Regions from separate parts of the Homo sapiens genome. Here region 2 is linked to region 1. The links are contacts of gene promoters, found by promoter capture Hi-C in human tissues and cell types (Jung and others, 2019). All regions are on one chromosome and are shown on one strand. Each heading gives the region's core, a stretch centred on a gene start or on the middle of the fragment in contact. The rest is flanking DNA. Distances are from core to core; before and after follow the strand shown. Region 1 holds the start of SNAP91 (synaptosome associated protein 91). Region 2 overlaps SNAP91 (synaptosome associated protein 91).

What was found. Contacts are between HindIII fragments. The study calls those that stand out against the background at their distance.
Region 2: a fragment that was not itself captured here is called in contact with the fragment with the promoter of SNAP91 in region 1 in 1 of the 25 tissues and cell types used here (adrenal gland).

The regions. Positions count from the first base shown.
Region 1 is chr6:83,707,287-83,713,066 of GRCh38, reverse strand. It overlaps SNAP91 (synaptosome associated protein 91), which reads left to right and starts at 3,966. Exons shown (of 30, transcript NM_001242792.2): 1 at 3,966-4,222; 2 at 5,110-5,269. The coding sequence starts at 5,140. LOC105377879 (a long non-coding RNA gene) reads right to left here and starts at 3,625. Exons shown (of 3, transcript NR_136251.1): 1 at 3,348-3,625. RefSeq lists silencers at 3,694-3,753, 4,084-4,293, 4,703-4,997. The HindIII fragment of the contact is 7,193 bases long and covers 565-5,780 here.
Region 2 is chr6:83,655,868-83,661,630 of GRCh38, reverse strand. It overlaps SNAP91 (synaptosome associated protein 91), which reads left to right. Exons shown (of 30, transcript NM_001242792.2): 5 at 27-129; 6 at 2,539-2,632; 7 at 4,766-4,877. Among named protein-coding and RNA genes, the nearest start is that of SNAP91, 50 kb to the left of the region's middle. The HindIII fragment of the contact is 4,020 bases long and covers 1,047-5,066 here.

The DNA of each region.
Region 1 (5,780 bases), core at 2,717-5,216:
GTAGAGGCGGGGTTTCACCATGTTGGCCATCCTGGTCTCAAACTCCTGACCTCAAGTGATCTGCTGTCCTCCACCTCTTAAAGTGATGGGATTACAGGAATGAGCCACCGCGCCAGCCTCAATATGTATTTTTAAAAAGCAGTTTGGGGTGTTTATTATAATTACCCTATTTTCTGACCACTGAGATCAAAGATATTTCAACTTGTAAAATATTAAATGTCAATTCTTATTCTTGCCTAAGATTTATTGAATATCATTTATTACGTTCCTGTGCCTTCAAAGAGAACATGTCAACAAGTAATTTTTTATCTCAATATATTTCTTTCTTTTAGTCTATTTTCTTTCTTTCACTTTAGTATATAACATTCATGGATGTAACTCTAGATTTTCCTGGCTGTAAGAAGCCAGCATCTCCAAATCTTTGCTACTGAAAATATGCTACTATTTTCAACGCTCATTAAGATCTTCCAAAACAACCCACATTTCATATATTGGTTCCATCCTTGACATTATTTATTGATTATTTATTATAAGAATATGATACTTCTATAGTTGAGGGATTTTCAAACATTCTGCTAACACTATGTCAGGATGTTTATGTGTGGGATATTCTCCCATGTATAGTACCAGAGACATGGGTAGCATACCAAGAATAAGCTCTGGCTTCAAATACTTCCCAGTGTATTGTATGTAACTGCACACTATTATAGGATTGACTTTGAATCCATTCCAATCTATTTTGAAAAATAAATCATTCACAGATTGCATTATTTTAATTATTATTGGAAACATGTTATTTGCTCAAAACCTCTTAACTAATAGCAACATATGTGACATTACATCATTATTGGACTGTTGGAGAACCATTATTTTATACTACTTCCTCATTTTATGTAAATTGTCCAACTTATTGCACAATGTTGTTTATAACATTCTCTAATTTTTTAATGTCCATAGAATTGATTTCTCCTTTCACTCCTAAAATTGGAAATTTTTGCCATCTTATTTTTTCCTTGCTCAATCTGGCTAGTGGGGTTATCCATTTTGTGATCTTTTCCAAAAAATGGCTTTTGGTTTAATTGATTTTATCTATTATTTGTCATTTTCTCTTTCATTGATTTGTACTCTTTATTACTTCCTTCTTTCTGCTCATGTTGAATTCAATTTATTCTTTTTCTAGTGTCTTAAGGTTCAAACTCAAATAAATATTTTTAGATCTTTCTTCATTCCTAAGCATTTTAATGCTATAAATTTGCCTCTAATCACCACTTTGCCTGCAACCCACAAATTTTGATATGTTGGATTTTCATTATTATTTAGTTCAAATAAATTTCCAATTTTCTTATGAGAAAATTAGACCTATGGGTTATTTGGAATGTGTTGTTTAATTACCAAATATTTAGAGATTTCCATATATCTATCTGTCACCGATTTTTAGTTAAATTCCACTGTGGTAAGAGAACATAATGTGTATGATTATAATCCTTTTAAATTTATTGAGACTAGCTTCATGGCTTAGGATCAGTCAGTATGGTCAATCCTGGAGAATATTCCATGCACACTTTAAGAAAGTATTCCACTACTGTTGGGTGGACTATTTTATAAATGTCAATTAGGTGAAGTTGGTCTGCAGGACTATTTCTTTCTTTTTTTTTTTTTTTGTGAGACAGAGTCTTGCTCTGTCACCCCAGCTGAAGTGCAGTGGCGCGATGTCCGCTCACTGCAAGCTCCGCCTCCCGGGTTCACGCCATTCTCCTGCCTCAGCCTCCTGAGTAGCTGGGGCTACAGGCACCCACCACCACGCCCAGCTAATTTTTTTTTTTTTTTGTATTTTTAGTAGAGACGGGGTTTCACCGTGTTAGCCAGGATGGTCTTGATCTCCTAACCTCATGATCTGCCTGGCTCGGCCTCCCAAAGTGCTGGGATTACAAGCATGAGCCAACCGCGTCCGGCCTACAGGGCTATTTCAAGTCATCTATACCCTTACAGGTTTCCTGTCTACTTGTCCTATTTATTACATAGAGAAAAGTGCTGAAATCCTGAAGTATAATTGTGGATTTGCCTGTTTCTCCTTTTAATGCTATTAGGTTTTGCTTCGTCCTACTTTGAAGCTCTGTTCTTAGATATACAAACAAGTAGAATTGTTCCATGCTCTTAATGAATTTTTCATTATGAAATGTGCCTGTTTATTGCTATTAATATTCCTTATTGTAAAACCTACTTTGATATTAATATTGCCACTCCCAACTCTATCAGATTATATTGAGGTATAATTAACAAACAACAAAATTCGCCAATTTTAAGTGTACAAATTGATGAGTTTTGAGAAATACATGCAGCTGTATAATCATCATCACCGTCACGATATAAAACATTTCCATCTCTCCAAAAAGTTTCCTTCTGCCCCTTTGCAGTCCCCTCCCCCAATGCCACCGTCACCTGACTCGGCACCTGATGTGTTTTCTGTTTCTATAGTTTTGACTTTTCCAGAATGTTACATAAATGAAATCAAAATAATAAGTAGAATTTTTGATAGAGCTTCTTTCCCTTCGTCTAATGAATTTGAGATTCATGAATGGTATTAGTTTGTTTCTTGTTATTGCTAAGTAGTATTCCATTATGTGGATATACCATATTTTGTTTATTCATTTACTAGTAGAATAACATTTGGCTTTCCTCCAGTTTGGGGCCATTATATTAAGCTGCTATAAAACTGGAGTACAAGTTTTTTTAATAGAATTGCGTTTTTATTTCCCTTGTAAATATGGTAAGACTAGTACTTGAGACAATAGTGCTCTTAAGCTGTCTCTCTTTAGTCATTAAGCTTCCAATTAGTCCTAGAATCAGTCTCAGTAGTTAGGAAATCATGACTGCATACTGAACACTGTACCAGGTGAAAGAGAGGAATATATAACAAAACGTTGAGATCGATAGGTATCGATATATGGCTTCAAGGCCGAGCAGAAGCCACCCGAAGCAAGGAGAAAAAATGCCAGGAAAGCTCACAAATATAGTTTTGATCTTCATGCTACTGTGAGAATTAAAAAAAAAGGTGAACATAAATAACAACCTTTGAAAATGTCAACACGTGAAGCTATTAACCAACTCCACATCCCTGTTTAGAAATTCCTGCTTACTATTCGAATATACACTTGACATACAATTGACGGACGTTCCAACACTATATTTAATTGGCAGAAATTACTTCTTAAGGGTACAAAGGGTTTTCTTTATGCACGCAAATGATTACTGTCGAAGGTAATCTGGGACTCGATTAACGGCTGTGTTAATTATTCTCCCTTCAGCAGACCTCAGTATCCGTTTAAGACTAAAGTGGCTAGAATTACCTGCCCACCCGGGCTCCCAGTTGTAACTGAGACAAGCGGAGGAGCCTGAGGAGCTGAAGACGCACAGGTGACGGTCGCGGATGGCCGGCAGGATCTGACATTTAAAATCGCCCTGCTCATCTGGGCCTCGGAGCCTTTGACAGGCGGGCGTGTCAGCGACAGTGTGGGGAAGGGGCTGGGCTCCGCCAGGCAGCGCGCGACGACGCCCTTGCCTTGGCCTTCACAGAGTAGAACCCGAGAAGCCCACTCGCCCGTCTTGGCCAACGCCCCCAACGCCCAGGGCTCCCCCCGCAGTCGGCGGGCAGGTGTGCGTGGTGCGCGAGCCCAGTGCGTGCCGGGTGCGGCGCCAGCAGCGGAGGGGCGGCCCGGCGCCCAGCGGAGAGCCGCTGGCTGGGTGGGTGTCGGCCTCCCCGCCTCCTTCTTCTCCCCGCCGGCTTGCCGGGGATGCTTGCGCGAGGCGCCCCCTCGCCTTTAAGCTCCCGGCCCCGGGGGGCGGTGTGTGTGAGTAGCTGGGAGGGGGCCGCGAGGCGCTCCGCCGAGGGCTCGTCCGGGTTTGTCCGCCGCCGTCACCTGACTCGTCGGAGGAGCCACAGCTGAGGTGGGGGCGGGGATGGGGACGCAGCTCGGAGCGCTAGAGAGACGCGGCGGCGCTGGCAGAAGAGGCGGCGGCGGGCGGGTACTGGCTTCTGGGGCCAGGGGCCAGGGGCGGTGGGCGCCGGGACCGCGGAGCTGAGGAGCGGGGCCCGGCCAGGGCTGGAGACTTTGCGCCCGGGGGCACCGGGGCTACGCGCGGTCGCACACATCCACCGGCGCGGCTTCCCTCGGCGGCCCGGGCTCCGCTCATCCTGCGGCGGGCGGCGCCGCTCAGGGGCGGGGTGAGTACCCGCGGCCGTACTCGGCCCCCTCCCCGCGCCAGGGTCTCGCGGGGATCCGCAGAGGATAATCCCAGGGTGCGGAGAAGGGCAGCGGCCGAGTGACAGCTCCGCGGAGCGCTCCAGGGCGGGCGGGGGACTGGGCTTCGCTGTCAGCCCGGCTCCTCTCCAAAGCCAGGAAGGGTGAGGCGCCCCAAGACTCCGGCGCCTCCGCAGAGCTCCCGGGCGGCCCCTGCGGCAGGGATTTGGAACCGGGGGGAAGGGGCCCGGGCGATGGGCCTCGGCGAGGCTTTGGAGCCGGCGGCGAGGAAGGAAGGGGAGGCGAGGGCATAACATGGCGCAACGCTAGGATAATCTCCTTCGCGACTGAGGGAGGACGAGCCCTTTGCTGCAGCAGCGCGAGGAGGAGGAGGGAGGCAGCCAGGGCTTGGGTATCCGATGCATTCCCCGAAGCCTGCGGGCTGCTAGGAGGAAAGTCTGCTGAGGTGGGAGATGGGCACCGGTGGGTGCGGCGCCCAGGGAATAACCCCAACGCACGTTGTGGCTAGTCCAGCACCCGCGGGTCAGGTTGCGGGGAAAGTGCTGATTGACAGGGGGGTCCCCAGGGGGTGAGTCTGGCCCTATGTGGGGGCCGGGGGAGAATGGGGACGGTGTCACGATGCTGCGACTGGAGCCCACGCTGGGGTTCCGTGACGGCCCTACTCACGGCCAAGACTCCCTGGACCGCATCGCAGGAGCGGGGCTTGGCGCGTTGCTGGCTCCGAGAGGTGGTGCCAGGGTGGGGATGGAGGAGGAGAGAGCCGCCGCGCGGCTGGAGGAGGCAAGGCCTGGGTGCTTGGAGGGTAGGGTCTGCGGATTAAAGCCGGACCGTCTCCCCTTGTTTCCTGCAGAAGAGGAGGCGGTAGACGCGACCACAGAAGATGTCGGGCCAAACGCTCACGGATCGGATCGCCGCCGCTCAGTACAGCGTTACAGGCTCTGCTGTAGCAAGAGCGGTCTGCAAAGCCACTACTCATGAAGTAATGGGCCCCAAGAAAAAGCACCTGGACTGTAAGCATCTCTTTATATAAGAGGGACATGCGCACGGCAGAGGCGCCTGGGATGCTGGTGGTGCGGCCTGCGCTCTTGGTCCATAATGCTGTGGCCTCTGATACTCCCAGCCAGGTTGCCCCTGAGCTGAAATTCTTCAGCTGTGAAGGTGTTCCCTTGGGTTAGCCATGAAACCTTGTCTTGTGAGCCATTTTTTCCTCTTATTGACCTCCAAGGTCTTGGTGGAGGGGGAAAAATACACACACACACACACACACACACGCATATGTATATACACACACACAAGAGAGAGATTGTACACACTGAATTAGATGTTTTTCACCTTTTTTTCTTTCTCCACCCACCCTCCCTTCTCCAAATTAGAGGAAATTAGAGGTTGCACAGTCAAAAAAAAAAAAGATGAATTTATGGAAGGTCAAACTTGTCACCCTAGTTCTTTCCTAAATACATTTCAGATAGTTCTAAGGTAGTATAATCTTTTTAAGTGTTGCTCCTGAGGATTGTTTTTGTG
Region 2 (5,763 bases), core at 1,807-4,306, 51 kb after region 1:
TTTATTTCTTCTTTCCACTCTCCCAGGTTATGATATGTCTACCTTCATAAGGCGCTATAGTAGATATTTGAATGAAAAGGCTTTTTCTTACAGACAGATGGCCTTTGATTTTGCCAGGGTGAAGAAAGGGTATGTTTTTGTCTTTCTTATATTTATTAGAGGAGAATAAGTCTTTGAGGCATACTTGATTTATTTTAACTAAGCTTAAATGCCAGCTAATTTTCTTGAAGGCCCAGTTTACAATAACCTAAAAAAAGGAACTCAATAATATTGTAGAAGTTAGCCTTGAAGTTGCAATATGCATTATTTTGTTTATATCTTCATGCAGAAAAATCTGATTTGCTTCTCAGTTTATATGCTATAAAATTTTTTTCTTCTCTCTAATCCCAGGACAAATTATATAACATTTTATTTGTTAAAAACTCAAAATTTTTAAACATGTATATACCTTTAAATAATTTAAGAAGGAGGGAATTAAGACAAGATTCACTTAAAAGTATAGTGGCTGTAGATGACAATAGCTATTTGGCCTGGCACAGTGATACCTGTAATCCCAGTACTTTGGGAGGCCAAACTGGGAGGATCATTTGAGCTCAGGAGTTAAAGAACAGCCTGGGCAACGTAGGAGTTAAAGACCAGCCTGGGCAATGCAGTGAGACTTTCTCTCTACTAAAAATTAAACAAATTAGTCAGGCGTGGTGGTGTGTGCCTGTAGTCCCAGCTGCTTGGGAGGCTAAGGCAGGAGGATTGCTTGATCCTAGGAGACTGAGGCTACAGTGAGCTATGTTCATGCCCCTGCACTCCAGCCTGGGCAACCCTGTCTCTAAGACCCTGTGTCAAAAAAAAAAAAGATGGAAAATAGCCAATAGCTATATAAATATTTTTTTTTTAATTGAGGTGAATCTGAACTTTGATCTGGTTTTGAGAGACGTATCATTCTAGAAAACACATATATAAACACACACCATAATCAAACTAATTGTTAATACTACCAATTAAGAAAACCTCATTGAAACAGAAACACTTGAATTTTATCTATAATTACCATTTATTTCCCTCTAAATAGATGCATAAATCTAGTCAGAGGCATTCAGCCACACATTTGTGCATATCTTATATCTGTTCCTCATTTGAAATAATGGCAAGGTACTATAGCAGCTTTAATATTTTAGTCTCAAGAATCCACACAAAAAGATGTAACTTTATTTTTGCAATGGCTAACCTGACCTTAGTTTGGGGCTACTTTTTTTACCATGGTGGTGAAAAACATCAACTTGCCTATTCAAAATAATTTATTGTAGATGAATACTTTATAAAAGTAGGTGTTTTCCTTCACCCTCTTCTCACGAGAGATGATTCTAGTTCATATGCCTTCCTCTAACTTCTTACATGGCACCATGCAACCATTGCTGATGTTCCCAGCTGCATTGTGACCTCTGCAGTAGGTCCATGGCCTTCCTAGAAACTTCTGCACCCCTGTATGAACACATATGGACACTTCAGGTTGCTTTCTCCACTGTTGGTCTGGGAGAGACCCTGAAAGTTGCCATGATCAGCATGTCCACATCATCTGGGTATTTTCTTCAGCTATTACAATACTGCTGCTCCTCAACCATCACCATCACTGGATACAAGGGCTTCCTAAGAGACCTGAAGGTGGAGACAAGGTGCAGTGCACCCTCCGACATCAGCATTAACCTTCAGTCTCATCTTCTGTAGCTAAACTCTTACCTTTGTTTGGGAAAAGTGTTCTTATCAGCATGCATTTTTCTTCCCTTGATGGTTAATAGCATAAACCTTGTACTCCAAGTCATACAGGTTTTATAAACTTCCAAGACATGTTTTCTCTTTCTCAAAAAAAAAGAAAAAAAAACTGGCTTTTTTGAAAGCTTATATTTTGATTGGGCAAAGTGGCTCATGGCTATAGTCTCAGCACTTTGGTAGATCATGGAGGGAGGACTCTGTGAGGTCAGGAGTTTAAGACCAGCCTGGGCAACATAGTGAGACTCCCATCCCTACCAAAACAAATTTTTTAAAAATTAACCGGGTGTGGTGGCATGCACCTGTAGTTCCAGCTACTCATGAGGCTGAGGCAGGAGAATCACTTGTGCCCAGGAGTTTGAGATTACAGTGAGCTATGATCATGCCATTGCACTCCAGTTTGGGTGACAGAGTGAGACTGTCTCAAAAAAAAAAAAAAAAAAAGAAGAAAACATACTTTTCAACACTATTACCTTTATTATAGATTTAGAAAAATCCATTCATAAATTCAGCTTGCCTCTTTTATCCAGACCCGATTGCTTTCTTCCTAAGGGCAGTACACATAGAAAACAAACAAGCATTGCCTGTGCAATGGAGGAATAAGAATAGATAATAGATAGAGGGGGGAAATGACTACAACCTTGTAATACCTCAAATTGATCCCACAGGATTAATAAGGAAATGGGGTGGTGTGGGGGAACAGCTTAGAACAATTCATATGGTCTTGAATTGTCCATATCCAATGAAATTGTACCTTTTTTTTTTTTTTAATTGTAGGGCCGATGGTGTAATGAGGACAATGGCTCCCGAAAAGCTGCTAAAGAGTATGCCAATACTACAGGGACAAATTGATGCACTGCTTGAATTTGATGTATGTATCTCACTAGAAAATGTTTCATACACAATCAATGTTGTCTTTCATTTGAAGATGGGCTACAGGTAAATCCAAAGATTTCCTCGGGAAGCAGCTATAGATCTTCATTTAGATGAATACTTAGTTCAGGCTGTTAAGCTCGGTAAAGATTATTTAGGTTCCCCTGATTTTTCTAAGCAGTTTACCAGGTGTTTACATAAGTCATGGAAAAATATGAATGGTACATTCTTGGAACTTCATGTTCTGAGCAGGATAGTGACTTCCTATTGTACTTGACAGGATGAAGTATCTGCAAGATGTGCCTTCAGGCAGTTAAATAACTTGACCTGCTGTTAGAAATCTTTTTTATTTTTTATTTTATTTTATTTTGTTTTATTTATTTATTTTTTTGAGACGGAGTCTCACTCTGTCACCCAGGCTGGAGTGCAGTGGCGCGATCTCCGCTCACAAGCTCTGCCTCCTGGGTTCACGCCATTCTCCTACCTCAGCCTCCTGAGCAGCTGGGACTGCAGGCGCCCGCCACCATGCCCGGCCAATTTTCTGCATTTTCAGTAGAGATGGCATCTCACCATGCTAGCCAGGATGGTCTCGATCTCCTTACCTCATGATCTGCCTACCTCGGCCTCCCAAAATTCTGGGATTACAGGCATGAGCCACCACGCCTGGCCTAGAAACCATTTTATGCAGATTGCTTAAATGACACTATCCACCAAAGAATTGTGTTTAATCTTAGATAAATTAGTGAATTGTTTCATTGTCAATATCCTGGTTGTGATATTGTACTATAGTTTTATAGGATGTTACCATTAGGATAAACTGGGTAAATGGTATATGGGAGCTTTCTGTATTCCTTCTTACACCTGCATGTAAATTTAGAGTTATCTTAAAATAAAAAAATTAATTTTGAAGAATCTTGAGGCTGGGCATGGCTCACGCCTGTAATCCCAAACTTTGGGAGGCCAAAGCAGGCAGATCACTTGACAAGGTCAGGAGTTTGAGACCAGCATGGCCAACATGGTGAAACTCTGTCTCTACTAAAAATACCAAAAAAAAAAAAAAAAAAAAGCAAGGTGTGGTGGTGCATGCCTGTAATCCTAGCTACTTGGGAGGCTGAGGTGGGAGGATCGCTTGAACCTGGGAGGCAGAGGTAGCAGTGAGCTGAGATCATGCCACTGCACTCCAGTCTAGACGACAGAGTGAGACTCTGTCTCAAAAAAAAAAAAAATCTGAAATCTGATTCATGAAAGTAAAATATTTTGACATGTAGAGACATTATTAACTCATATTGTTCAGCCTTTTTGTATTTTGGTAGTTGCCTACAACAAAGATTTTCCTCAAATTTTAGTAACTTAGCATCTCTGTTAAGATTGTATGGTTTAGTCTATAATTAGGTGCTAATCACAACACCTAACTCCTGTGAAATTTCATAAAAGCAGCAAACCATCTTATTTTTTAACAGATTTTATGATAAGGACTTCACTAAGTATCTGTCGAATTGCCTTTTAGCTTTTATTTTCTTTTTAATTCGTTTATTTTTCTTTACTTTCCTTGACCTTAGTAAGGGTTCTGTCTTAAAAGAGAAAGTCATAAAGGGAAAAAGAAAAGGATTGAGGAGTGGGGAGAAATTATGTGCCTTTGTGTTGATGATTAGAGTAGTTTGGAATAGGTGAACAGTTATGAGTCTCTAGAGTTATTTTAGAGGTAGCTGACTAAGGTATTCCCCATGCTGTTCTTCCACACTGAGTCATTGCAGGCCCCTGGAGCCTGAATCCTTTCACAGAAACTATTAGATAGGAGAAGTGGAAGAAATGTAACATAACAGTAAAAGTAACAAAACACCAGATTTTCAAAAGTTAAATTTGAATAATCTATGGATTAATCTATATAAACACATATATATATAATGCATATATCTGTCTTTTAATCGATAAGACTAACCTCATTGACTTAAATTGAAGCAAAAACATATGTAGTCCATCTTTTGATATTGGTAGGGTTACTAAATGAATTACCAATGTTTGTAGAATATTCATGAATTTCTTAGTAGTCATTTGAGACATTTTAATGTGATTCAAGAAAAATTAAGACTTAATGATATGCCGCTAATATTAAATTTTTCTGTTTTTCTAGGTGCATCCAAATGAACTAACAAATGGTGTCATAAATGCAGCATTTATGCTTCTTTTCAAAGATCTTATCAAACTTTTTGCTTGCTACAATGATGGTGTTATTAACTTACTCGGTAGGTGGAACAACCGAAACATGTCTGGGCTGATGGGATACACAGTAAGATTGATGAATTCTGTGGGGTGAGTCTGTTGTCTCACTTGGTGGGCAATATTGTGTGGAATATCATGATAGTGAGTAAGTCCACAGATGGTGGTACTGGCAGAACGATATGGGCAGAGATGGTAAATCCATATCTAGGGTAACTGGGTGCTAATCATAGTGTAGACAGATTGCTGCTAACCACCCCTAGTAAAAGGAATTAATCCTCAACCTGTTACTTGGTGGATGGCTGGTGTCCCTGGCCTATCGTGTTATGATGAAAGCTCAGTGTTGATCCAGGGTGTTGGCCAACTGAGGACTCAGCAGTGATGATAGGCATATAAGCCTTGGCGATGGGAAGCCTATGCTGTTTAGCCTATTCATAACCTCCATTTCTGATATATACCCACTTCCTATAGAGTTCTCTTAGCCGCCCTCTGATTAGAAAGAGCCTTTTTGTGGGATATGCCCTTTGGTTTTTATTCAAATGGGATGAATATAGTCTCATGCTCTCTATCCATTATGAGAGGTCCATCCATCACCTTTTCTCCAGAACTCCTTGTCACCAATCCTCCAGTTTTATTTTTTTCAAGTACCTTATCATCCAGGCCAACAGTTAGTTGCTACACATAATTTGGTGTAGTTCAATGTTTCTTACCATTTTTCCTTTACCATAAAGTGGAAAATTAGATAGATATATTACTGGAAATTTGACTCACTGTGAAGATTTCTTTCTTTGTCAAGGCCATCCCTTTGTGGGGATATTATTCAGCTTTTCACTTCCAGGTGGTGCCAACATGAGGAACCATCTCTAAACCAAATTTGAATGTTTTCTTCCTCAGTCAGCTGGTGATAGGGAA